Regions from separate parts of the Homo sapiens genome. Here regions 1, 2, 3, 4, 5 and 7 are each linked to region 6. Evidence: promoter capture Hi-C in human tissues and cell types (Jung and others, 2019). All regions are on one chromosome and are shown on one strand. Each heading gives the region's core, a stretch centred on a gene start or on the middle of the fragment in contact. The rest is flanking DNA. Distances are from core to core; before and after follow the strand shown. Region 1 has its middle 7.5 kb from the start of TRH-GTG1-6. Region 2 has its middle 46 kb from the start of TRH-GTG1-6. Region 3 has its middle 110 kb from the start of TRH-GTG1-6. Region 4 has its middle 13 kb from the start of TRH-GTG1-6. Region 5 holds the start of CER1 (cerberus 1, DAN family BMP antagonist). Region 6 holds the start of MPDZ (multiple PDZ domain crumbs cell polarity complex component). Region 7 has its middle 52 kb from the start of NFIB-AS1.

Region 1 (4,048 bases), core at 1,384-3,883, 1.2 Mb before region 6:
ATAAATGGAATGGAGAAGCATGGCTTAGAAAGGGACTGAGGATGGCATCGCAGTTTTCATCTGGCTCATGAAGCTTGAGGAATGGCAGTGCCTTTACCTGAGATAGGTGATGTGGAAGAAGAAGGGCAGGTGGGTGGGAGACACCTGACTTCAGTTTGGACAGTGAACCTGAGATGCCTATGAGACAGTCAGTGAAGAGGCTGGATAGCTAATTAGAAATATGGCATCATGTTTTTTGAGAGAAGCTTCAGATGAAGGCATTGGTTTGGAAGCCCATCTATAGGAAGTAATAGCTGAGGATGGAGGATGGAGGTGGGTAGCATGGAGACTGCCAAGAAGGAGAACGGAGATGATCATTCAGATGACACACAAGAAGAAAAATTTGGCACTGCCCGACTGATCACCCTCAGCACTGCCATAGTTAGCTGTGAACCTTGACCTTCCTTTCCCAAAGCTCTGTGAGTCGGCCTCCCACTGTCCTGCACTCTGGGAAGGACAGAAGCAACACCACATATAGGCAGAAGAGTCATGGCGGGGGGGCGGGTGGGGGGTTGGGTTAGATTTAAAGATCTGTGAAAGATTTGCCTGCCACCACACTTGGGATTGGCCATGTCGCAAGTGTGGCCCTGGGTCAAAGCCTTGTGCATAATAGCCTTCCGCAGACTGCAAACACTATACCTGATAGAAAAACATGTTCTAGTTATACACATTAGTGATACCGTTGTTACTAATAAAAATAGCAGCTCATGGTTTATGGGTTAAGCCGTGTCCCCTCAAAAAGGTATGTTGGACTTGAACCCCCAGATCCTCAGAATGTGACCTTATTCAGAGAGTCTTTACAGAGATAATCAAGTTTTATAGAACTAGTGTCCTATCAAAAGGCAAAGTCTGACACGGAGACAGACACACACACGCAAAGATGAAGACAGAGATTAGAGTGATGCCAAGCCAGGGACCGCCAAAGATTACCAGCAAACCTGCAGCTTGGGGAGAGGCCTGGGACAGATTTTCCCTCCCAGCCCTCAGAAGGAACCAGCCCTGCTAGCTCCTTGTAGCCTCTAGAACTGTGAGGCGATCGGTCTCTGCTGTTGAAGCCACCCAGTGGTAGTGCTTTGTTATGGCGGCCCTAGCGGACTAATACATGGCCGTGTTTTACTGGACATTTTGTCAAATGCATTTTTTGCTCTTGCTCATTTGATCCTCTCAACGACCCCTTGTGGAAGATATTATTAGGTAACCTCTTTTACAAGGTGGGAAACTAAAGCAATCAGAGATGCATGTTCCTGTGTGATAAGACACAGGAGACAGAAATTTTAGTGGGGAGAATATCAGAAAATTTCACACATGGGGCCCAGCACACTAACCAGCATTGTAGGAGAGGGTGGTGATTAGGAGAGGGTGGTGATTAAGCGAGGTGGACCCAGAGTTAGCCTCCTAGGCTCCAGTCCCAGCCCTGGCAGCTCTGCCTGTGTGATCCTGAGCAAGCTCCTTCACCAACTCTGCACCTTGGTATGATGAAGAAAATCATACCGAAGGTTCTCCTGAGGATGAAATGACCTAATTCCTGTGAAGTGTTTAGCACAGTGCCTGCCGTATTACTATGTGCTCAACAAATGGTAGCTATTTTAAAACAATCATTCATGGGAAATTACAAGGGAGCAGAGAAGCCCTTGTAATAAGCCCTTGAGGGTAATACAATCATAGTTGCCTCTCGTAAGTGTACTGTACAAAGGGTCTGTAATAAATGCATTGTATATATTTAATGGTCTCTGGGTGTCTATGGCTAGGGATGGATAGCAACTACTGCTTATTCCATAGGCAGACATGGCCACTTGGTGATTCTCTTCCACGGCCCATTCACTCACCACTGGAGGAGGCCCTCTCCTGAGGTCAAGCCCATCTTGACCCCCCAGGAAGCTGCTTGTCATAGTAATAAGGGTTGAGACTGCCTTGTTAGATGACAGGCAGGAAAAAAAAAAAGAGGAAGAAGAAAAAGAAAGAATTCTGGGCTATATGCAACTGGGAATTAATCAGTTAAAAGGTCAGAACATAAAGTATGGGTTTTGATATAGATGGATCCCACATGCTTTGAACTTTAAAAATCACCGCATAAGGTTTCACTATAAGCACGTTCACCATAAAGGGACTTCACTACACAAATAATGAGAAAAGAAACGAAATCTCCATCCTGAATTTTAAAAATGCAATTAAAATCGGCGCAGACCCACTGAGCCTTGCCAAATCCTGCTTTAAATAACAGTTTGGAGAATCACAAACTTCAATTACTTTTGGCAATGTCTTGGTTTTCCATGAGGCACTACAGGTTATTAAATGTCGTAGCTATTTAGCTTGCTAATGAATAGTTTATCCTACATTCAATTAGGCTGGTTTTCCGTCCGATTTTTTTTTTTGTTTTCTCTCTCCTTTTTTTTTTTTTTTTTTGAACCCACTCAAAGAATTGATGATAATTAAGGGAAAGCTGTCAAGGGTCCAGGTTTTTTTATCCAAGATATCTTTATAGTTCTAGGGCTACCTAGGGTAAAAATCTGGCTTCATCTTATAAACCTAATATCTATCTTCCATATCAGGAATGGCTGTCATAATGATGATAATAGTAAGAAAAATTGCAGTTGTATGTTCTACACAACACCTTTCAAACTGTTCTGCATATTTCACATTTTTCTCTTAATACCTTTGTGTAGTAGAAAAAGAGCAGGTTTATTATTCTTTTTAAAGTCAATGAGGCAAAGGGGGATAAATGAATGTTCCCAGATTATAAACTTCATCATGAACAAAGCAGAATGAAACATGAACACGTAATGTAGTGTTAATTCTCTATTCATTTCATTGCATTATCCAGTTCCCTGGTTTCTCTCTCACTCTCAAGTGACTGAGGCATTGTTATCAGGGGATGCAAATAGTATTTTCATGTATTTTTGAATCACAAGATTATCAAGGTCTGATCAGTTGGACAGCAGTCTCTTTCTGATCAGTGATGTGCTTGTTTATTTCATAGCCCCGCTTTAATCAGGAGAGATTGTGGCTCTAGTGATTTTTGACATTCATTGAGAAGGTTGAAATTGGACATAGACCCTGTGTAATTCAACAAGTATATTTGTGAAATGTACTTCAGAAGAGGCAAAATTAAAATCACCAATAACAAAACACCTAACCATAAAAAAAATAGGCCAATTAAAGAGCCCTTCGATTGGTATCAGCTCCTTCTGCAGCTCTAAAATTAGACCGCACTTCAGGGATTCTGGATCACACCCAGGCCAATTCAATATTTCAATCTAGTCAGCGTGTGCTCTGTCCTAGGTGCTAAGGTGAAGCATGTGGGAGACAAGATGAGGAAGACACAGCTGGCCCCTTGCAGAGCTCTGTGGCGGTAGACTGCCCCAGCCCCACCCCAGCTCACACCAGGTGCCTCATGCATGTGAGGGCTCAGCCATTTTCAGAGCAAGCTCATTGTCACCACTATAAGAACAAATCTAGACAAAAAGTAGGTCCACCTGGTGAGCCAAATGCCTGGATCGTTCTACAGAGGAGGGCTTTGAGGAAGGACTTCCAGCTCCCATGTGGCTCAGCCACCCCCTCTCCTTCCAATTCCCACCCCAAAGTTCTTCTCCTGCCCTGCCTACTTAGCTCCTGACGAAATTGACTGAGATATTGGTTCATATAGGGCAGAAAAGGCAATGTGCCAACCCAAAACTGGGGCAAACGGCTTCCGCCTCGGGGGTGTTTTCAACCCTTACACCGTGTTTTTGCCTCTCTACTTGTTTTCCTCACATGCCCCTATCATGTCCCTATCTCTGGAATTGGAACCACCTGTCCGGACCCTGAGGCACTCTGGCCCATCTGGTGTCCAACTCACCCCTTGGCCCTGACCACTTCTCATAAACAGAGCCCAGTCCCTCAACCTCAGGCCACTTCTGGGGCTCAGCATGTGCCAGCTCTCCTGGCACCCCCTCTTTCTGGCCTGAGGCTCAGGGAAGCTCACTCCCACATCTGGGGTGGCCAAAGTATAGCTAATATTTATTAAGCACTT
Region 2 (3,726 bases), core at 1,156-3,655, 1.1 Mb before region 6:
GTTATAACTGTGGCATGATTGCTTGCCTTTTTTTCCTTTGGGGGCATCAGTCTGCTTTCCAATGAACTTTAAGTGGTGCTGGAAGTTTTCCTGGTCTGTTGACATATATTGTATTTCAGCATTCCTTTTCTTACTGTCCCTGAGATCAGATTTTGGTAGGGTTTAAGACAATGGCACTTTAGTTAGTAGTTCTAATCTAAAATAAGTATCTTCAGAGGTAGTGCTAAGGTCTGAAAGCGATTTTTCCGTGTTTTGAGAAATCTAATGGAAATCATATGTTTATCCATGACACAACTGCCCAGACTAAGGAGAATGTCACATTTCTTTGATTCTATATCAACTCAATGTGTCTGGCTACATCAGTTATTTCAAACCATTAGAAGCTCTGATTGGTTGATGATGATGTCATAGAAATTTCTGAAGTTGGGAAGGATAATAAAGAGTCTTTGGGGGTGGAAATGCTGGGAAAGGCCACACTGATTACTGTTCTGCTTGTGATCCAACTCTAATTGAGGAGGACCCATTATGAGAGTTGTCTGTGTGTATGGCAGGGAAAGAGTAACTTTTTTGGATATAAAGTAGACATCTATATATTTGGTTTATGTTTTACCAATTTGCTGTAATGTTTTAATGTTCAAAATTCTGGTCCAAGTTACTTTAATTTCTGCTTCGTTTTAGATGCCTGCTTAAAATATTTAAAGTGTACACATTGGAATGATTTTTTTGTATTCTATTTTCTGAAGGAAAAATCTATATCTTAGTATAGATAAGCATATGGATCTATTTAATATGTTCAAAAGCAATGCATATGAATGACTCAGAGCTTAAATTTGTGGTGCTTGGATGAATTGCTTGTTGGGATGGACTCAGAAAGGTGGGAGGAGAAAGGGGGAGGGATGAACAACAACTTAAATGGGAGAGGAGAAACATGTGATTCTAGAAAACAAAAGAATCATGAGCACCAGGAAAAGATAAGTGGTTGTGACAGAAGGAAAGTTCTCAGTGAATATTAACAGGGCCTAACTTCATGTTACACACAATTGTGTTCACATGAAGCCATATGAGGAAACTGCAATTAAAATGTTTAGAAACAGAAAATGTTGTTTGAAAGAAACCTTTGCGATCATCTAATATTGCAGTTCTTGATCCAAAGCTACACACTATGATCACTGGAGAAGCTTTTAAACAATGCAATGTCCAGGCCCCAACCCTTAAGTTTCTGATTTAATTGGTCTCTGATACAGCCCCAGCATGAAAAATTTTAAAAACTTCCTTGTAATTCTAATATACATCCAGGCTTGAAACCATTGATCTAGTTATTCCTGTTTTTTAATTACAAGACATGTCATATACACAAATAGTGAAAATGTATTTTAAAACTATGTATTTACTACCTAGATTGAACACATAAACTTATTGCCACATTTGTTTTATTTTTATTTTTTAAGAAATACAATGTCACAGATATCCTTAGACTTCCTCATCCACTATCAAATCCCACTGCCTCTCCTCCGTTTCCAGAGGCAATTGCTATCTAGAAGTTGGTCATATCCTCCCCATTCATAATTTTTATATGTTTACTATGTAGGTATATAGACTTTTGATGGTTTTAAGGTTTTGTACACTGAGTATCATAGCACATGTATTCTTTTGCATTTTTCCCTCCTTCCCTTCCCTCTCTCCCTCCCTTCCCTCCTTACTTTCTCTCTCTCTCTCTTTCTCTCTCTCTCTCTCTTTTTCTTTCTCTCTTTTTTCTCCCTCTCTCTTTCTCTCTCCTTCCTTCCTTCCTTCCTTCCTTCCTTCCTTCCTTCCTTCCTTCCTTCCTTCCTTCCTTCTTTCTTTCTCTTTTTGAAAAGGTCTCATTCTGTGGCGTCATCACAGCTGACTGCAGCCTCAACCTCCCAGGCTCAATTAATCCTCCCACCCCAGCCTCCTCCATGTAGCTGGGACTACAGGTGCATACCACCACACCTGGCTGCATTTTTCTTTTCTTACTGAACATTATGCTTTTGCAACTCATCCTTGTAATTCAAGCTATTAATATTAACTGTAGTATCCTATAATACTTTTATGCATTCCCTTACTGATGGGCATCTAAGTTGTTTTTCTCATTTTGTTTTGCTTGGCTTTTGGTATGATAAAAATACTGTGGTACACATTTTTGTACATCTTCTTGAGCACACAGAAATAAGCTTCTCTAGGGCAGAGCTTATATACAATTCTGTATAGCAGTGCCTCACAGTTGGGTAGAAGAAGTGGGACCTGAGGTGACCACAGCCCCCTAAATGGGCACCTCCTGCTATGAGCAGCCTCCTCGGCTTACCCCACTGTGCTCTATGAGTATTATCTTTCTCTATGTGTGTCATAATGGGGAAATTGGAAAATACTGCCCCAAGAAATAACCTAGAAGTGGCCATCCTGTGTCGTAGAGTAAGCACACTTAATTAACTCTGTAAGTATTGCTAAAATATTCTAAGAATTATTGTACCAATCCCCATGCCTACCTTGTCAGACTGGAAAATTTTTTGCTGGTCTGATAGATGTGAAATGATATCTTGTCTTAATTTGCATTTTCCTAATAAGTTAGAAAGTCTTTTCATATGTTTACTGGCATATGTTTATAGCTTATGAATCCTCAATTTCTATCCTTTGCTCATTTTTCCATTGAGTTGTTTGTTTCTTCTTCTCACTGATTTTTAATGACTGTATGTATTCTGGATGCTAATATTGTGTAGGTTATATGCATTGCAAATATTTTACTCCAATACCTGGCTTACATTTAACTTTATTTTAGAATCACTTTTCTCAAAAGCTTTTAATTTTTAGTTATGTTTCAAGTGGAGAAATGTGAGGCTCATGGTTGCATAGTAATAATATTTTAGTACCAAATGATGTCACCGTGCTTGCTACTCTAAAGCAGTACAGCAAGATTGAAAAGAACACTCGTCTGAACCCAAGATTTCACAGGTCTTCTATATCTGCTTCTAATAGTTACTGGCAAAAGCCAGTATAAAAAATAATTTGTTGATGTTGGTTACTTAATTACCTGATTAAACTGACACACAGTGATGAACAGTTAGTCACCTAACCCCAAGTCATACACCTTTTTAGTGCCAAAGCTGTCAGAATCTCACACCATTTCCCAAAGTTTGCTGTGTGGAACCCTAGTCCTTGAAAAGCATTCTGTGGTCAGTTTCATTTTACATTTTTTCTCCTCTTAAAATTTCAGAGTTTACAGTGTGATATTAAAAGTTCTGTTAAGTCTTGCAATTAAAAATGCAACCGACTTTCCTTTAATGAGCATTTTCTAAACATATTTGTCTGTGGAACCCTCCTTTGCTATGGAGCACCTAATAACACACCAAGGAGCTGATATTCTATGGAATGGACTTTGAGAATTTCTACATTTAAAAATATTCCCCTCCAGTCTCCAAGGCTGTCTTCCCCTGGGCTGGTACTTTGTCTATACAATCTAATAAATATATAAAAATAGAAGCACTAACATTCATCATACTGAACTTTAAACACTGGCATATAGTAAAGAGATTCCACTGGCTTAAAGCAGAAATAATAACACTGATTGATTTTGTCCCCTAAGAGGCTCTCATGAGTTCCTCTGTGAGAATGCATGATAAAAATATTTCTCCCCCCTTTATGAGCATCTCTTAAATAATGTGGGAATTATTGTGGTGCTTGGTATTATGATCAATTCTTGGGTCCTGTAGC
Region 3 (3,820 bases), core at 770-3,269, 1.3 Mb before region 6:
CTTATAAAATTTGAGTGAAGGAAAGCTTAAAACTTTACATAAGACATAAAATAAATTTGAATAATTGGAGAGACATGCGTAGTTCTAAATATGAAAACTCAAAGTGTAAAACTGTTGTCTCAAAATCTATAAATTTAATGTACTCTTTGCAAAAGTAGATAAATTGATTCCAAAGTGTGTATCAAAGATACATATGTGAGAATACCCAAAAAAGTATTTTAAAAAAGAAAGAAGAGTAATTAAAGAGGATTGGTACCTCTAGTATTAAAATGTATTCTCAAAACTAATTTTAAATGGTTGGTACTGTTGCTAGAGTAGACAGACAGATGAATGGAACAAAATACAATTCAAAAATAGAGCCAAATGCATATGTGAATTTGCTATATGATAAAAGTGTATTCCAAATCACTGGAGAATTGATGTAATTTTTTAAAAAATTATATGAGGGCATTGGCTAGCCCTCTGGAAAAAAGAAACTTAAGACTTTGCTCCTCATGCCAAAATAAGTTCCTGAGAGCTCAAGAATGTAAACTTAAAGTAAGTTAGTAAGTAACTAAATAAAAGTACCAAATAAAAATATGAGCGATAATTTTTTATGAGAGTGGAGTGGCAAGGCCTTTAGAATAAAGACTCAAGGGCCAGAAACAATAAAGAAATAGTAAATAAATAGGACTGTATCAAAATGAAACACTTCTGCAGAGAAGTACCATGGATAACATAAACAGAAAATGTTAAAACTAATGTCCTTAAGATATAAGGAGCTATTAAAATTAAGGAAAAAAAACAACAACCCAATAAAAAAAAGAACAAAAAATTTGAATCAGTTTGCCAAGAGAAAGAAAGAAATGTAGCTTATAAGCTTAATAAAAAGATGTTTATTATAATTCAAATGGGAATACAAATTTGAAAAAGTGATTTGCCATTTTCCACATCAGATAAGCTTGGATATGTTGCTTTAGTAAGAGTTTAGGGAAGCATGCACGTTTACCCACTGATTAAAAAAAAAAAAGTGAGAATTGCTACAACTTCTTTGGAAGGCATTTATGCAACAAATATCAATATTTTAAATGAACATACTATTTTTCCAGTAATTATCATACCAGGTATATCTTATCCTAAAGATATACCTTCACTTGACAGCAAAGACATCTATGTAAAGGCCATATAAAGGATGATCATTTCAGCTTTCTTTTAATATCAAAGGACTAGGAATATATATCTATCCATAAAAAAGACATCAGTTAAGTAAATTAGGATACTTCCATGCATTGGAGTATTGTAGTCATGAAAAGAATAAGTTAGATATGATAGTTTTAAGGCCCAATAGACAAAATGACTGAAACAAAATACAGAGAACCCAGAAACAGACCAAATGATATTTGCTCAATTCAAATTCAGTAAAGTAGAATACCACATAGCCATTGAACATAACCACTATTAGTAATGCAAAAAGTAGGAATTAAAATAAGGTTCTATTTTTAGCTGTTAATGAGCAAATATTTAAAGCATGGTAATATCAGTATTAGTCAGGCTACCGATTTGTTCTCATTTTTTTGATTTCTGTATGCGGTTTTCATTCATTCATTCATTGATTCATTTAACCAATATTTATAGTGTAATAAACTATACATTATGCCAGGCACTGAGTTCTTATCACTCAAAGACTAGTTGATGAGAGTATAAATTCCAATTGTGGTAGTAGAAATCCATAGCTTAAAATAGTCACACTTTTTACTGAACAATTTATCTTCCAGAAGTTTATCTCATATGAATAATCAGGTAAGTGTGCACAGTAGTAGTTGAAAGGATATTTAGCATAGCATTTGTGGAAGATTGCCAAATGTCAAAAATTCCTTCATGCTTTTATGTTATATTTCTTGTAATGTGACGTTGCAGATTCTCACCAAGCAATGGAGTCTATTCTTCAGCCTTTGACTCTGGGTTGGACAGATGACTTGGGTTGGGCAAAAAGACATTACTAAGTATATTAGAAGCTAAGGCTTAACAAGCACTTGCACATTGGAGCTTGCTGTCCAAGCCTCTGAGACCACTGGTGAAGAAGTCCAGGCTGGACCACTATGGATGAGAAACCACATGGAGAGAGGACCCCTAGTTGCTTCACAGAATAATGAACTAAAAAAAAAAAAAGAAATGTTGTTCTTGTAAGTCGAGAAATTGTGAGGTTGTTTATTACACGGTGAAAGCTAATTGATAAGGCATTATTTGTAATTTCCAATCAACAATCCACCTATATGTTTACCAGAAAGACATATAGGTTGGTTAAATTCATACAACGGTGATAAAGTTTGGATGTGTGTCCCCTCCAAATCTCATGTTGAAATACATCCGCCAGTGTTGAAGGCGGGCCTAGTGGGAGGTGTTTGGGTTATGGGGACAGATCCCTCGTGAATGACTTGGTGTCCTCCCATGGCAATGAGTGAGTTCTTGCTCCGGTAGTTGATGTGAGAGCTGGTTCTCTAAAGGGGCCTGGCACCTCGTCCTCTTGTCTATATTTCTCCCTCTTTCTGTCTTGCTCCATCTCTCTTTCTTGTTCCCTCTCTCGCTGTGTGACATACCTGCACCCTCTTCACTTTCCACCATGAGTAAAAGCTTCCTGAGGGTTCATCAGAAGCTGAGCGGATGCTGGTGCCATACTTATACAGCCTGCAGAATCATGAGCCAAATAAACCACTTTTCTTTATAAATTACCCAGTCTCAGGTATTCCTTTTAGCAACTCAAAACTGACTCAGAAAATTGGTGCCAAGGAGTGGGGCATTGCTACAAAGATACCTGAAAATGTGGAAACAGCTTTGGAGCTGGGTTACAGGCAGAGGTTGGAAGAGTTTGGAGGGCTCAGGAGACAGGAAGACAAGGGAAAGTTTGGAGCCTCTCAGAGCCTGGTTAAGTGGTTGTGAAGCATTCTAAAATGCTTTTAGAAACATGAATGGTGAAGACCAGGCTACCAAGGTCTCAGATGGAAATGAGGAAGTCATTGGGAACTGAAGCAAAGGTCACCCTTGTTATTCCTTAGCAAAGAACCTGGCGCATTGTGTCCATGCCTGAGGGATTTGTGGAAGGTTGAACTTAGGAGTGATGATTTAGAGTGTCTGTTGGAAGAAATTTCCAAGCAGAAATGCATTCAGGAGGTGGGGTGGCTGCTTCTAACGACTTACATTCAGATTTGGGAGCAAAGGACTTAATGTTGGAACTCATAGTTAAAAGGGAAGCAGAGCGTAAACATTTGGAAACTTCACAACCTGGCCATGTGATAGAGAAAGAATCCAAGCAGGCTGTGGAACAACCGCTTGCTGAAGAGATTAGCATGACTAAGAGGAAGCCAGGTGCTAATAACCAAAACAATGGGGAAAAGGCCATGAAGGCATTTCAGAAGTCTCTGAGGCAGCCCCTCAGTTTGGGGAGCCAGGCCCAGAGTGCTACTACTGCTCTCTGCTGCCTCAGGAGGCTACTGCTGCATCCAGTCTGCTGCATTTCCAGCCTCAGCTCAAAGGGCCCAAGGTACAGCTCAGGCTGCCACTTTGAAGAGCGCAAGCCACTATAAGCCTTGGAGGTTTCTACTTGGTATGCAGAATACAAGACTAAGGGAGACTTGGCAGCTTCCGCCTAGATTTCAGAGGAAGTATCAGAAAGCCTGGATGCCCAGACAGAAGCCTGCGGCAGGGGCAGATCCCCTTCAGAGAACTTCTGTTAGGGCATGAGGGGAAATGTGGGGTTGGAGCCCCCACACAGAATCCCCACTGGGACACTGCCTATTCCCCACACAGAGTCCCCATCAGGACACTGCTGTGCCCTTCAGACCCC
Region 4 (3,955 bases), core at 788-3,287, 1.1 Mb before region 6:
GCTATCTATGGCTGGCAGGGCTGGGAACACAGCACTCTGCACCTTCCTCAGTCGCAGAAGTGGTCACTGGATTCTGGTTGGGTGGATTTTGTACCATATTCTTCTAGCCAAAGAGATTAGTCCAAGATGTGGACCCATGACCTATGCTGAGCCAATCTGAATCCTTCCTTGGAGTGTCTTGAGTGGAAAGTGAAAGGATATTGTCTCAAGACTGGCCTTTTCAAGGTTGGGTTTTATAAGTGTGTTGGCCTTTAAGCCTTATTGCCTTCTTAAAGTAATTTAAGCTAGATGCTTATCACGTGCAATTGAAAGAGTTCCAGCTAATACGGGGGCTTTGGCAGAATGAGAAAGGAGCCTTACTTTCTTTTCCTGACTCCATAAGAATACTTAGAGCAGGCAGAGAAGCACCAGGCCAGAAACATTATGGTGAGCAAACATGGACTCCAGGGACATTCAGGCCTTTTGGAAGAACAAGCATTCATGGACTGCTAATAATTAATGAATTTCAACTGATCAGTGTTCTACAAGTAAAAGTGGCCAATAACCAGAGGCCTAACATCTGGGGAAAAGGCAGGAAAGTTTCCATAAGGATCTGACAGTCTGAGACCTGAAGATGGGGAGTTGTTATTCTCATCTTCCTGGGTCGGAGTCTCCTTTGTCATGTTAACCCTACATAGCATGGTGGCTGCTTCCACTTTAAAATGTCTTTTTCTCACTAACTGAGCTAACACTAGCCTGTTTATATGATTATATTAGTGGGAATATAATTACTTTTTCTGTACTCTTCATACTTCCTGTGGCCTCATCAAAATACATAAGAGAAACTTTTGGTCTGAGTAAAATGAAGTGCTAGGTAGAAAAGTGAAAAAAATAGCCCTCAAGGAAAAAAAAAGTAGCAATTCTAATTCTGCTCTCATGAATTATCTTTGGAGTCCTGAATATCTATTAAAATTTCTGACATACCTGTAGATTTCTGCTCAATCATAAATCATGAAAATATAGAAGAATTGGGTATGCTTTGGTACAAAGAATATGCACTTTCATTGAAAATGAACTCTATAAAGGTGTATCAAAATGAATCTTTGCTGTTATGCAAATTAGCACTGGGCCAATTCTAGTGTGGCATCCTTTGCTTTGTCGAAATGTATCCAACTGTGATGGATCCTCTGTCCATTGGTTTGTAGCAAGTAATTTACATTTGTCAACTTTCATTTGTATGTAGATAAGATAACTGACATTGAAAACCCATCTTCTTATCTTTCTCAATGGAAGAGTTAATCTGATTTACCATTTTCATGATGTATACTCTGCATTCCTCTTCAGTATCTTCAAATTCCAGGTAGTTTTTGACTGATTTGTTGTGTTCCTGCTTTTACATCTTATCTTATGAAAGAACATATACACTCTGTTAAATTAGATCTTAGGGCTTTTAGCCCTCCTCAGACTTTCTCTACCATGCCCCAAAGTATCTCATCCAATAATTAACATTTATAATTATTTAACAAATCTGTATTGAGCCAGACATTGTTCTAGATCTGAGAATTTATAAAATAGATGTTCATTTCAATTAATATGATTGTTATTTATCTCATTTAATATTTCATAAGAATTGGCATCTAGAAAGAAATGAAGGAAGAAAAACAGGAAGGAAGAAAGAAAAGAAGGGGCTTGTCTCTTTATGAATGCTACAGTTTTGCACATGGTATACATGCCTTATTTTTTTTTTTTTTGCCAAAGATCCAGAGCTCTTAAATTATGTGATATTATTTTGTAACAAAATAGTTGAAGGCAGGATGTGAAAAAGAAACCAATGCAATTTACTTATAATTAACTAAGACTAAGTTTAAAAACGAAAAAAAAAATGGCTTACTCTCAGTGGTGCTACTGTTGAACTGTCATCTAAAAGCTTATATAATTAGTGGAAGCATGTTAATTGAATTATGGCAATTAAGTCAGCCTTGAGACAAGAGGTTCCCTCCTGATTGACGAGATAGTAGTAATTCTGCAACCCATTTCCCCTGGTAGGAAGTTTCGGGACTGTGTCTCATCCTGCCCCTTAGTATTTTAGCTATGATGAAGTGGCCAAATCTTGATTTCTCTGGTGTTAATTATCCACTTTGCGGGTTTTCTGGGCCCTTGGATTCTTCTCTTCCTTTCTACAGGGTTACCAGGTTGACAGCATCAGTGGTAGGCTAGAGCCATGAAGAGGTCATGCAATTTACATCTGTTGTTTTTGCTACCAAATATCTTCATCAGTAAAAGATAAGGAGTGGGAGGAATGAAAATATTTGGGGGGTTGGTGTGGAGAAAATGATTATCTTTCCAGCCTTTCTTTGATAGCATCTTTTTTTTTTTTTTTTTTTTTTTTTGAGACGGAGTCTCGCTCTGTTGCCCAGGCTGGAGTACAGTGGTGTGATCTTAGTTCACCGGAACCTCCACCTCCCGGGTTCAAGTGATCCTCCCCTCTCAGCCTCCCAAGAAGCTGGGATTGCAAGCGCACACCACCAAGCCCACTAATTTTTGTATTTTTAGTAGAGATGAGGTTTCGCCATATTGGCCAGGCTGGTCTCAAACTCCTGACCTCAAGTGATCTGCCCTTCTCGGCCTCCCAAAGTGCTGGGATTGCAGGCGTGTGCCAGCACGCCCGGCTCTTTAATAACGTCATTGTTGATTGAAGTGTTGAGAAAAGACTGAAGCCAGAGTTCACATGAGTTTGGGGACAGTTTGGGGACTATACTTGTTCATCTTAACCCTTTTTATAGAGCCTGCAGAGTGAGCTAGCAGCATGTATATCAGGTCCTGTCCCCAACCTGATATTAATAAATGAAGTAGCCTTGGGAAATTTCCTTCCTCTCTCCAGGACTAATTTACTCTACAAAACAAGAATGTTGTAGTTCCTTTAAACTACAAAATTCTATACTTTTTGGTCTATTCACAAGCTCAGGTTCATGTTTTCTAGGGTTTTGAATATGGATTGTTCGCCTCATATGTCCTGGGGTGACAAAGCTGCGTGGGCAGTGTGTATGCCAGCCAGACATACCGATGGGAAGTGGAGCAGATGCCACTGAGGACTGTCAAAGGGTCGGTGTTGTGGATACCTCCAGAAAAAGAAAGCAAAAGAAAAGCCAACAGGGAGGAAGGGGTGGGAGGACCATACTGAAATGTCTGAAGACAGCGGTCCTGGGGAAGTTCTGTGAGCTGGGCCAGCTACGTAACATGCAAGGCTACGTAACGTAACAGGGCTCGTTGCAAAATTAAAACACGGGGTCTCTTGTTCAAAAATCAAAAATTTCAAAATGGCTACAGCAGAGCATTCAACTAGACGCAGGACGCTTCTAAGTGCCAGGTCACATGCCGGTGAAGTGGGCCCTGTCTGTGGGCATGGTTGGTAGGGATTAATCCTGTTTCCAGGGGTTGGAATCACAGCAACCTCCCCTCCCTGGTCCCCTGAATCTGCAAGGCTCACTTCAAGTCTGCTTTTCATTCAGTGCTATGCTTCTTTCTTTCTTGCTTTTTTTTTTTTTTTTAACAGTGCTGCTAGCTGTATAAATATTTTACAGTTCCCCTATGAAAAGTTTCCAAGGGGCCCATGTTGAGGGAAAAAAATCTTTGAAAGGATTTTTTCCATAGCAATTAAAACCTTTCAAAGCACCGAGAGCTCCCCAGTCCCACTTTAGTGCAACAAACCTCTATTTTTTTGCCCAGTTTGGATGGCTCTGGGTCTGAAAGTAAGCCAGCCTCTTTGTTTGGTGACTTTGCAGGTTGCCGATAGACATTTGGAATTTAAATTCATTAGATACATGGCAGAGCCGTGGATGGAACTGGGATGGATTTAGAAATGCTGTGATCAGAAACTCTAACCCCTATTTCCTGTATCTCATTTACTGGGGTAAAATGACTATAAATCAACCTAAAGCTCATTTTAGCTCCCCAGATGAAGTCAAATGTACACTCT
Region 5 (4,120 bases), core at 1,520-4,019, 1.4 Mb before region 6:
GCATATTTTTGCTGAAAGCTACAAAATCTTCACTTATTTTCTTAAGAGATTATAATGTATTACATTATACATATATTACATGTTATACATACATAATTATACACACATAATTATACACACACAGTGTATCAATGGCTTTAGAATTGGTGAATGGACACGATAGTGAAAGGTGATAGTCATTGCCTTTAGCTGAAAAAGGCAGAGGTTGGAGATAGGCTTGTTTCATAGTTCTCATCACAGAAGGCTTGGCTTTGCTAGATTTACTTTTCACGGATAGTATTTACTAATGGGAGTAGGGAGAATATTTCAAGATATTTGCACATTTTCTCAAAAGAAGTGACAGAACAGCAAAAGGATATTCTCTGTGAGTGATTTTTAAATGGCACTTATAAGCCCCAAATTAGGATCAGAGGAAGGGAAGTTTAGGACTAAAGGAAAGTGAAAAATGGATAACTGACATCCCTATAGATGATTTTATACAATAAAGTTAGATGATGCATAAGAAATCCCACTAGACTATCTAACCTACTTGAGGGCAGGGACAAAGTTTTACTCATTTTTCAATTATCTACCAGTATCTAATATGATTCTTAACACACAAAGTGAGTCTTCTACACATTGCAGTTCAACAGGAATTATCTCAACTGTATCTCATGTTCAGTAATTCCAGAGCCAAGCAAACTGAGACCCGAGATAGAATTTCTGAGATTGTCTTTAGTTTTGGGAAATAGTAGATACTCTGATTGATAACAATGGAATTTCAGTTACTGAAAAGTAACAGTTAAAAGGATTCAGGAAAGGTATCACAGCTGGCTTCCACACCATATTATACCAGGAGGCCTAGTGACTAGCTCTGGAAAGCGTATAGCATTGGATGGCTGAGGGGAATTAAGAAATTCAAGTAGCAGTCAATTAAAAAAAAAAAGATGTTGACATAGCATGGTGGCTCACGCCTGTAATCCCAGCACTTTGGGAGGCAGAGGCAAGATGGTGGCTCAAGGCTAAGAGTTTCAGAGCAGCTTGGGCAACAGAGTGAGGCTCTGTTTCAACAACAACACAAAATTTTAAATAGCCAGGTGTGGTAGTGTGCCTGTAGTCCCAGCTACTCAGGAGGCTTGCTTGAGCCTAGGAGTTTGAGGTTACAGAGTGCTATGATTGCACCACTGCACTCCAGACTGGGCAACAGAGCAGAACCCTTTTCCTAAAATAAAAAAAAACAATGGCAAATACACATGCTTATTTATTATATATCAACAGCACCTTTCATTAATACTAGCACACGTTCCATAGATATTTGGTACAAGTACAATATATCTCCACTCATGGCATTCTGGTAAAGTGATGGTCCATGTTAAAAATAGCTCATTATCATGGGTAAAGGGACTTACTTAAGGCTTTATTTCATAGAAATCAGGCATGGCTATCAAGAAGAACAGAAATGCCTGGAAAACAGACTCCAGTGGGTCACTTCTTGGAAAGAAAGTTTAATCAGTATTGACAAAAAAGGGGGAACATGTTCCAGGACTATTTGTGTTATTGAAAGCAAGGAATATAGTGATTGAATTAAAAGGGGAGAAATAAAAGCAGATATTGCATTGCTTCCCAGTGGAAATACTGTTTGAATCATGTGGTAGGCTGATCGGACTCTATTCTGGGGTTTCAGTTTTCTGGACGTGTTTCTTTTTCGTATCCTAGGCTGATTCATGATAGTTTTGAATGATAGTTATTTTTCAATTTTTCCTTTGATCCCCGAAGACTCTTATTTGTGTCAATCTTTATTTAGCCTGGCCATCAATTAGTGTAAAACAAGGGGAGATGATGTGGATTCAATAAGGTAAGAAACTGACTAGCCAGCGTCACACACAAAGTTATCAAACCTGGTTCTTAGAATCCACGTTCTCATGTCTGGCTCTTTGTTCAAAGGGAAAAAAAAATCAATAGGATGGCTGGAGGGAGACATTTCCCTATCCTCATTGAAGACTGATGAGCTGTCAGTCTATTACGTGGTATCCTGTTGAGGAACATGTGAACAATTGGAAGAGTTTATCTGATGACTGACCAGTTGTGAAATTTAGCACCCATTAATTGATTCTTAATGTGAGAGGATTAACTTGGGAATTGTGAGTTTCTACGTGTGGAAAGGAAAACATATTCCCTTTACTCAGTTACTGTGCAAAAATCAATAACCCCAATTTGCATGTAAGTAAGAAACAATATGTCCCTTGCTCAAAAAAATTAACATCCTTCTAGCTCTTCCTTTCTTCTCCTTACAACTTTGATATACTTCTTCGTGTGTGTGTGTGTGTGTGTGTGTGTGTGTGTGTGTGTGTGTGTGTGAATAGCCTTCCTAAAGGCCTGGGCTTTTTCTAAATGTATGCCTTTAATTTTTATCCAAAAACTTCTCTTACAGCAACATGTCTTGTCTATTCTATTCCAGCACAAGGCAGATGCACAGCAAATGTGAGCTGACTCTAGTCCTTCTTCTGAAAACAGCCATGGGAAATTTAGGCAAAGAATGTGTTGTCTTTGCTAATACTGCTCTTTAAGCCCCAGACATAGCTAAACTCTTAGCTAATTACCCCCTGGGTCCCAGGCTTTCACTGGGGCCTTTTAAAATACACAAAACCAAAGTGACGGCAGGAGGCCATTAGCACTACATAATTCAAGCAAACAATAAATGTGTTTATTCTGCCTGGCTACTGACCACCTGCCTTCCCATCCCGCCAGGCAGGTATCTATATATACGATTTCCTTTTTCCCAGTCCTGCAGAGAATGAGCCTCTCCTTTGGGCCTCATCATTTACAAAAGAAGCTTGGGCCCCTGACAGCATGCATCTCCTCTTATTTCAGCTGCTGGTACTCCTGCCTCTAGGAAAGACCACACGGCACCAGGATGGCCGCCAGAATCAGAGTTCTCTTTCCCCCGTACTCCTGCCAAGGAATCAAAGAGAGCTTCCCACAGGCAACCATGAGGAAGCTGAGGAGAAGCCAGATCTGTTTGTCGCAGTGCCACACCTTGTAGCCACCAGCCCTGCAGGGGAAGGCCAGAGGCAGAGAGAGAAGATGCTGTCCAGATTTGGCAGGTTCTGGAAGAAGCCTGAGAGAGAAATGCATCCATCCAGGGACTCAGATAGTGAGCCCTTCCCACCTGGGACCCAGTCCCTCATCCAGCCGATAGATGGAATGAAAATGGAGAAATCTCCTCTTCGGGAAGAAGCCAAGAAATTCTGGCACCACTTCATGTTCAGAAAAACTCCGGCTTCTCAGGGGGTCATCTTGCCCATCAAAAGCCATGAAGTACATTGGGAGACCTGCAGGACAGTGCCCTTCAGCCAGGTATGTGTTCTGGGGGGAGAGCAGGTAAGAGTTTGCAGGTGGTAGTGGACAGCTGGGATGGATGGAGAGTAGGGGAAAAGGCTGTCAGGAGCCTGACTCTAGCTTAACTACAGATTTGGTCCTTGGGCATTCATCATAGGATTTGGCAAAGATTAAGTTTCCTTCTGGCCTTTCCATTTTTTCTTGGCATTGTGGAAATGCTGCAAGAATGATATGATGATACTGTCAATATCAGTAATCATTCATTCACACTGAAGACACAGAGCTCTGTTTTATTTATTTATTTTTGCATTGGAGGTGATCTACTCAGAGATATAAGTCAGACTGTACCCTCAGTTAGGAAACTGAGAATTTAGAGTAATCACCAGAACTCCTCTGTAGCTATCTTTCTGCACTCTATTAATATGTGGATGAGCAGGTCAACTCCATTTGTTGATAAAGTGGGGTGCATTGGACTCCTTCCCAAATACTCTCATATCCATTTACGATGGTCTTAATCCCCATAGTCCATACTTAATTACTTTATAGGTTTATGAGGGACTTCTTTAATAGCTTGCTAAAGCTATCCCACAACCTCAAAGTACGTTGAGGTTCTCAGGCAAAAGTTGTCATATCATTTCTAGTATTATGATAGCAAAAAAGTGATTTTCTTTCACTTATTTTCTCATATGAGCTTTTTAAAAAATCAATCTTGATGTGAGATCATATCTCCTCCCCTTAGAAGTACCTTTCTCCTGATTCATGTTGTGTTGGCTGATTTGTAGTTATTATGATCAATTCCATG
Region 6 (4,065 bases), core at 1,450-3,949:
TACATAGTTTATATTTGTACTGTTCAATTATGATGAACAATAAATAATAAACCAACAATAATAATTTAAACCAATCTCAGAAGTTTCCAGGACTTTTTCCCTTATAAAAGTCCTCTGAATATGACTCAAATTTGAGAAAAACAAATTATTGTGGAGAATGCCTCACTGAGGATATAGGTGGAATGACCCCAGAGCCTGTATTAACATGAAATAGAAAGCATTATTAATCTATTTACGTATGGGGTTTCAAGCCATCCCATAGAGTAGAGCACCTCTACTCTATCTGCTTTACACTTTGTCTTTCTCTGCAAGATTTTATTTCAACTTTAATGTTTTTAACTTTTATTTTAGGTATTTTTTTTTAAACTAGTGCACTATATCCCCGGTGGATTTCTAGAAAATCTTAGGTTTTCTGGATTAGAACAAGTTAAAGAGAATAGAGCAATAGCTATACGGATTAACTTCAAAAGGAGAAGCTTCAGGGTGGAATTATCCCCAAACTCTGGATAATTTTATGCAAGGACTAATCTAAACCAGATGCCTTTTTATCCTCTGATATACTGCTGTTTAAAGAGGGCATGTGGGCTTTGCTTCGCTAAAGGAGACTAGAACAATAGCACCTTTTAAACCAAGGTAAAATTATTTGTTTTAATCTCATTTATCCACAATAAACCAGGGAATTAAATTTCTAAAACTTTCCTCTAATTCAGTTTTATGGGCTCTTTCCCTATGGTTCAATATAAAAAATGCCATTTAAAATTTTAGGACTCAAAGAATTCCTTCAGTAGCTAGTTATGAAATTCTTTTCCTCCTACACTACCCCAGCAGCTAACATTTCATGCACGTACTTCCTTTGTATTTGAGAATGACCAGATTTGAAAACTGACAAGTAGAAGTGCTATTCAAACAGGAGGATCCCTTTGGAATTTCTAAGCAATAAGAAAATCCTTTCCAAATGGGATGCCTTGAGGTGACTCTATGACAAGAACACAAAAGTTATATGGAGAAATTATTCATTCTTGCAGTCGTATATTCATCCTATTTCATATGAGTGCCAACCAAGTGTGAAGTTTTTACTAGGCTCTGAGGATAAAATGGTGACTTAGCCCCTGTTCTCATGGAGTTTATGGTTGAAGAGGGAAGAGACATTGCATAATTACAAAATCAAATGCATATTTACAAAGTAGGAAAAATATTATGAAGCAAAAGCATAGGGTACCATAAGAATGCATCACAATGGGTTTATCGTAGTTTGTGGGAATCATGTAGCATCTATGGCAGTTCCATTCACTGGGACACTGAACAAGATGACCAGGCTTGAGCAGAAGTATCACGGCTGCATTTTTTTTTGCAATCTAGGTTTGAGACAAGCAAACAGGGAAGCCAAATAAACACTTGAATATATGGATAAATCTGAAGGTATAAATGTAAGATTCTGTAGGTACGAGATCATAAGCTAGAAGTGAAAATGTATTTAGAGGTAAGAGTTAAAAGGAAAAGAGGGCCCGTAACTGATTTTTAAGGAATTCCAGCATCTAAAGATTGGGGGAGAGGAGGCAAAGAAGACTGAAGAGTGGCCTGGGGACAGGGGCAGATCTACCTGGAAATTGATGTAGCTTAACGTTCCGGGTCCTTCTCTTGCCTGGGAGCAACCCTAGCAATGTGTTTACATGGGCATTTATTTTTTGAATTTTTCTAAAGAAAGATTTTTTTTTTTTTTTTGGTTAAAGCAGAGCTCCCAATTGTACAAGCTTCAGAGCCCATACATCCGCCCTTGACTAAGCGGAAGAAGCAAAACCAAGAGTGTGATTGCATGGAATTACAAGAGGGGTGGGGTGGGGAGGACTCTAGGAAGAGAGAGGTCAACAGCTGTGAATGTGTTTGAAAGTCCAAGGAATATGAGAAAAAAGTATTTTTATTCAGAATATTAAAAGAAATTCTTTTAAATGTTCTAAATTGGACTTCTGAGTATCCTTTGGTCCTATAATCTAATATCAGAGGGATATTTTGAAAAAGAGTTTCTTATGCAGAAAAAAATTCGTGGGACTTCCAAATTGAGGATAACAGAAAGAAAATCTTAAGTGGCACAAAATAGAAATGAATATCTGTTCTTCCTGGGGCCATGCAACTCTAATAACTTTTCCATGTTTACTGTTTTTGCTTTTTAATTGGATCATCAGACTAAGAATGCACCCTGATGTGCGAAAAGTTACTTAGAAAGTGAGAGGACTGCCCCCACCCTTCTGATTAAAGCGCTTCTCATAAGCATCCTATGCCATTCAGTAAGCTACCCATGCAGAAAGCATCCACAGGGCAGTGCACATAAGGAAAATCTGAGGAGCTAGAAACAGGCTATCAGTTTCCGCAGGTTGACAAAATCGGCAGATAAAAATACAAGACTGCCATTAAATTTGAATTTCCGATAAACAACGAAGAACTTTTTAGCATAAGTACGTCCCAAATATTGCATGGGATATACTTGTACTAAAATTATTCCTTTTTTTTTTTATTTGAAATTCCCATTTAACAGAGCAGCCTATATTTTATCTGACCACCTCACAAGTCCACTACCCACACCCCAGGTCGAGCGGCCCAGGAGCGAGTTTAAAACCCCGCACAGGCCTGCTCGGCCGCGTCCCCTGATTGGCCAAGGCGCGCCCGCCGCCCCGCCGGTCGCAGGCGTCACGGCAGCCCCAGCAGCCTGGGCCCCGCCACCGCCTCCGCGGCAGCCCCGGTCGGCGCAAGTGCGGCGCGCGCTGGGGGAGGGGGCGCGGCGGAGCGCTAGGCTGGCGTCGGGCCACCGCGGGATTAAGTTTCTCAGTCACGCGTGAGTGTCTGTGCGTTTTGATCCGAAGCTCCTCGCCGGGTCGTTACTTCAGAAGAGAAGACAGTGAGCGTGGGCGAGGCGAGGCATCCAGAGGCCCCGGCGACCCCTGCTCCCCAGTCCTCCGCCCCCTCGCGTCGCGGCCCTGGGCGGGCGCCGCGAGCCGGGTAAGCGGCGCTTGAGCCCCGGCCCAGAGGCCGAGGCGCGCCCCCGCGCCCTGCGCGCGCGCCGGCGGGGAAGGTGCGCGGGCGCCCTGGGCTCGGCGCTTGGGGGTGGGGGTGGGGGCGGGGATGGGGGTGGGGGTGGGGGTGGGGGTAGGGGTGGCGGCGGGCCGTGGGGCGGTGGGGCGGTGCGCTTGCCCCACCCCGCGCGGCCCGGCGCTTCGCGGAAGCCGCTGCTGTGGCTTTTTTAAAAGGATGGGGTCTAGAAGTTTCCTTTGCTACTCGCAAGTCTCCACTCCCCCCAGCCCCGCGGTGGATAATCCTAGACCTTTCAGCACCCCCGCCACCCCTTTCTTTTGCTCTCGCTGACTAAGAGGTTTAAAAGTTTTTCCTTTTCCTTGACCCAGAGGGGCACAGTCTTGGTGTCGGGGGGCTGGGGGTGGGGTGTTAGCCTGGGGGCCCGGAGCGCAGACCAGGCCTCCAGGGCGCGGGAGCCTGTTGCTCTCCCCTGCAGGGGCCGCTCCCGGACGCCCCATCCGCCGTTACGTGGTCCCGGGATGTGCGGGTTGCGGTAGAGAGTGGGCAGCAATGCTCCTGGTCCTGCGTTCTCGCCTTAGCCGCGGGGACCCCGAGGCGAGCCGCTAATTGGTACCGGTGCCCCGTCCCTCACCCCTGGCACCGGCGCCCTTTTAACCGCCGCTCCCGTTGGTGGGAGCACGTTGGTCTTGTCTCTCCCTTAGTCTCCTCACCCCCCGCGCTGATGGGCGTCTTTGTCTGCGATTTGGCAGCCCCAGGATGCCGGATGTTACCAGGGAAGCGATGTTTGGGAGACGCTTTGTGTCTTGCGGAGTTGCGCGTTTGTTGGGTGGTGATGGTGTACATTTTTGTTTGCGTTCTTTGCAGAGGCACAAAGGCTGGGCTATTCTTGCCTGCAGTCACATGGAAATCAAGCGGAGACTGCGGGGGAGGAGAAGTGGCCAGGCGCCGGCGGGAGGTAGAGGCCGCTCCGTAGTCACTGGGGGCGAGTGGGGGCCCCTGGAGACCTCTACTGCGCGGTGCGGCTTTTGAGGTGCTCCGCTT
Region 7 (3,572 bases), core at 227-2,726, 1.1 Mb before region 6:
TTGTTTGTTTTGTTTTGGTTTGGTTTTTTTGAGACAGGGTCTCGCTCTATCACCCAGGCTGGAGTGCAGTGGCACAATCTCAGCTCACTGCAACCTCTGCTTCCTGGGTTCAAGTGATTCTCCTGCCTCAGCCTCCTGAATAGCTGGGATTACAGGTGCCCACCATCATGCCCGGCTAATTTTTGTATTTTTTGTAGAGATGGGGTTTCGCCACGTTGGCCAGGCTGGTCTTGAACTCCCGACCTCAAGTGATCCACCCGCCTCGGCCTCCCAAACTGCTGGAATTACAGGCATGAGCCACTGTGCCCAGCCTGGACATTAGCATTTAAACAAAGAAATTGATAGCATTTCCAGAAGAGCAGGGGTCAAAAAAGCCCTATGGCAAAGGTGACCCATAACAGGGTAAGAAAGTCTCCAAGTCTGAAGGAACCTCACTATTAGGAGGGATCTGATTTTTATGGAGTTCCAGTGTCGTGTGATCCTGAGATGAATCTGTTCTTTACATGGTTATTTCTTACCTTTGTTATGGAACCAGGTTGTGCCTACAGTGAAGTCAAGTGTTTATAAAGTAGATATGTTCACAAATTTAACACATATTTACACTGTGGGCTAGACCAGCATTCTCAAACATCTGTTATTATCCCACCTTCTACGTGATTTGGCTTCCTCTTATCATTTACACTCTTATTCCTTTAATTTTTAAAAAGCCAATGTACAATTTTTTCTTGACTAAAAAAAACAGTTAACTACCCTTGTGTTGGGGTTGGGGTTACATCAATGAATTAAGTAGTCCTTGACCTTATGGCTCCATAGACCATTAATATACAAATAACTAACTTTGATAAAAATATTGGAAGTGCTATGATAAATGCGAAGAGGGAGCCATTAATTGTCCTTGAGTCCGATGGGGGTAAGAGTGGAAAAGCTTCACCCAGGATGTGATATTGAGCTAGGCTTTCAGGAATGAGCCAGTAAGGAGGTGAAGGTTATTCTAGGCAGAGAAAGCTGCTTGAAGGGAGGCACAAAGTCGTAAAATGTACTGGGTGTTTGGAGATGGCGAATGGTTCAAAATAGCTAAAGCCAAGAACATACAAGGTGAGTGACAGGAAAAGCTGCCTGGGATTGGTTTTAAGTATAGTCATACACAGTAGGACATAACCTTGTCTTACCCTGGGGGTAAAGAGATAGCCCCCAAAGTTTTCAGAGATGGAGAATGTCTGATCTGCTCTAGGTTATGAGAGTCTAATTTTACCTACAGTGGGCTGGTGATGGAAGGGACTGAAAGTAAGAAGGTCAATTAGGAAGCTGTCCAAATATATCAGGCCAAAGATGGTGAAGTACTGAATTAAGGAGTAGAAGCTGTGATGAAAAGGAAAAGCTAGATTTGAAAACCTTTTTTGAGGTAGAAACAATAAAACGTGGTGACTAATTAGGAGAAAAGAAGGAGTAGAAGTTGGGTCCAAAATCTCTAACTTGAGTGCCAGATATATGGAAATGCCATCTATCAAGACATGAGGGAAAGCAGAGCTTTGGGAGGGTGTGTGTGGGGAAGGGAGAGGTGGGGCTGATTGAGGAGTTCTGGCTTGGAGATGTTAAAGCTGAAGCACCTTCTGAAGACTCTGGTAGGTAGATCTACCCAGAAGGCATCAACAACATGGAACCATGGCTCCAGAAGGAAGAACTGTTGGCTATGAGATGGACCCCTGTGGAAATACTCTGCAAATGACTTTTAATGATACAGATGGAAACTAATTATCCTGAGAAGCCTAACCCGATGATAATTAGATAATTTGAAAACTGGTAGTAAAAGAAGGCACAGAACAGCCCTTCGACCAGCTTCCACATCATCTTCTTTAATACAATAAGATTGGGAAATCACTGTGCTTGAAATGATGCAGACACAAGTCTGAACGCTGATCGTCATACTACTAGCTAGCTGTTTGACCTTGGACGAGTTACTGTTTAACCTCGCTTAGCTGCTTTGAGGCAGACATTATTCTGGGGTCTGGGAATATAATGATAAATAAACCCTACCCTCAAAGAGCTTAAATTTCCTTTTCTGTAAAACTACTAGATTGCAATGAGATATTATGTATCAGGCACAGTGCATGATACACAGTACCAAAAACCTGTCACTTACTATATGTGCCAATCACTTTCTATTCTTGGTTCATTTAATTTTTACACCAAACCTGTGAGGTAGGCATTGATATTGTCCCTATATAGTTGGGAAAACTGAGCTCAGGTACCTTGCACAAGTTCACGGGAACAATAAGGGTCATCTGACTCCCAAAATGCTATACTACATCTCCTTTCCTTTGTCAAACTAAATGAGCTATGCAGACATAAGCACCTTCTCTCTCTGAAAGCACCAAAATATGAGGGAATGGAGTAGAAGACATCATCCAAAGAAGATGCCAGTTAAATTGAGATAATATGGCATATTAACATGAAGATAATCAAAACTGAAGTTAGTCAAGATAGCACTGGTATAAATCTCTTTAAATGTTATTCAGATGACTGAACCAAAGATAATGGTCGAGAAATGCTTATCAGTTCAAGATGGCCAAGGCTGCCACTCTGTACCACTCCAAGGAGTTGTGTGTGCAGTTGCACCGTAACCAGTCTGCCTGGTGAAACACGGTGGCCCTGTCCGTAGCTACAGAGTTCTTTTCCTACCTCACATCATTTTTGGAAGTAAGTGCAGAAAAATATTTATTAGTAAGTAAACAACTTTTAAAAGCATTTCAGGAGTAATTTTTACTCATAAATAATGAAATACAAACTACTTAAAGTCATTCTGGGGTGGAAATCTTTACCATATTACTACCTCTTTATGTCTGCTTCTTGGCTGTCATCTTAAATCTTCCTCTTCATTCCCTCAACATTGGCCTAGTTCAAGCTCTCTTCATTTCTCTCAGGACAGCATCCAGCCACTTGTTTCCCTCTGTCTCTCTTTTTTTTTTTTTTAATCTTACTTTACTTACTTTACACGTAAGATACATGTGCAGAACGTGCAGGTTTTGTACATAGGTATACATGTCCCAAGTTTGGTACATGTGCCATGGTGTACATAGGTGTACATAAGTGTACATGTGCCATGTTTGGTACCTGGGATACATGTGCAGAACGTGCAGGTTTGTTACATAGGTATACACGTGCCATGGAGGTTTGCTGCACCCATCAACCTGTCATCTACATTAGGTATTTCTCCTAATGCTATCCCTCCCTTAGCCCCTCACCCCCTGACAGGCCCCGGTGTGTGATGTTCCCCTCCGTGTGTCCATGTGTTCCCATTGTTCAACTCCCTCTTATGAGTGAGAACGTGCGGTGTTTGGTTTTCTGTTCCTGTGTTAGTCTGCTGAGAATGATGGTTTCCAGCTTCATCCATGTCCCTGCAAAGGACATGAACTCATTCTTTTTTATGGCTGCATAGTATTCCATGGTGTATATGTGCCACATTTTCTTTATCCAGTCTATCATTGATGGGCATTTGGGTTGCTTCCAAGTCTTTGCCCTCTCATGTATCAATTGCTCTAAGGCTTAAACCCCCTCAGCATTTCCCTATCAAC

Evidence for each region. The method cuts DNA at HindIII sites, captures the fragments that hold promoters and counts their contacts. A contact is called where the count stands out against the background at its distance.
Region 1: a contact is called between a fragment that was not itself captured here and the fragment with the promoter of MPDZ in region 6, in 3 of the 25 tissues and cell types used here (H1 embryonic stem cells, adrenal gland and mesenchymal stem cells).
Region 2: a contact is called between a fragment that was not itself captured here and the fragment with the promoter of MPDZ in region 6, in 3 of the 25 tissues and cell types used here (H1 embryonic stem cells, dorsolateral prefrontal cortex and hippocampus).
Region 3: a fragment that was not itself captured here is called in contact with the fragment with the promoter of MPDZ in region 6 in 1 of the 25 tissues and cell types used here (mesenchymal stem cells).
Region 4: a fragment that was not itself captured here is called in contact with the fragment with the promoter of MPDZ in region 6 in 2 of the 25 tissues and cell types used here (dorsolateral prefrontal cortex and heart left ventricle).
Region 5: a contact is called between the fragment with the promoter of CER1 here and the fragment with the promoter of MPDZ in region 6, in 1 of the 25 tissues and cell types used here (H1 embryonic stem cells).
Region 7: a fragment that was not itself captured here is called in contact with the fragment with the promoter of MPDZ in region 6 in 1 of the 25 tissues and cell types used here (dorsolateral prefrontal cortex).

The regions. Positions count from the first base shown.
Region 1 is chr9:14,439,529-14,443,576 of GRCh38, reverse strand. It overlaps a transcript of NFIB not described here. Among named protein-coding and RNA genes, the nearest start is that of TRH-GTG1-6, 7.5 kb to the right of the region's middle. The HindIII fragment of the contact is 4,948 bases long and covers 160-4,048 here.
Region 2 is chr9:14,386,477-14,390,202 of GRCh38, reverse strand. It overlaps a transcript of NFIB not described here. Among named protein-coding and RNA genes, the nearest start is that of TRH-GTG1-6, 46 kb to the left of the region's middle. The HindIII fragment of the contact is 5,319 bases long and covers 1-3,726 here.
Region 3 is chr9:14,546,994-14,550,813 of GRCh38, reverse strand. No RefSeq gene overlaps it. Among named protein-coding and RNA genes, the nearest start is that of TRH-GTG1-6, 110 kb to the right of the region's middle. RefSeq lists an enhancer at 3,172-3,774. The HindIII fragment of the contact is 3,154 bases long and covers 443-3,596 here.
Region 4 is chr9:14,418,860-14,422,814 of GRCh38, reverse strand. It overlaps a transcript of NFIB not described here. Among named protein-coding and RNA genes, the nearest start is that of TRH-GTG1-6, 13 kb to the left of the region's middle. The HindIII fragment of the contact is 4,997 bases long and covers 1-3,955 here.
Region 5 is chr9:14,721,382-14,725,501 of GRCh38, reverse strand. It overlaps CER1 (cerberus 1, DAN family BMP antagonist), which reads left to right and starts at 2,769. Exons shown (of 2, transcript NM_005454.3): 1 at 2,769-3,336. The coding sequence starts at 2,830. RefSeq lists enhancers at 1,744-2,681, 2,682-3,621. The HindIII fragment of the contact is 6,126 bases long and covers 1-3,910 here.
Region 6 is chr9:13,278,326-13,282,390 of GRCh38, reverse strand. It overlaps MPDZ (multiple PDZ domain crumbs cell polarity complex component), which reads left to right and starts at 2,699. Exons shown (of 47, transcript NM_001378778.1): 1 at 2,699-2,991. RefSeq lists enhancers at 3,076-3,791, 3,792-4,065. The HindIII fragment of the contact is 5,465 bases long and covers 1,115-4,065 here.
Region 7 is chr9:14,367,553-14,371,124 of GRCh38, reverse strand. It overlaps a transcript of NFIB not described here. Among named protein-coding and RNA genes, the nearest start is that of NFIB-AS1, 52 kb to the right of the region's middle. The HindIII fragment of the contact is 3,365 bases long and covers 1-3,158 here.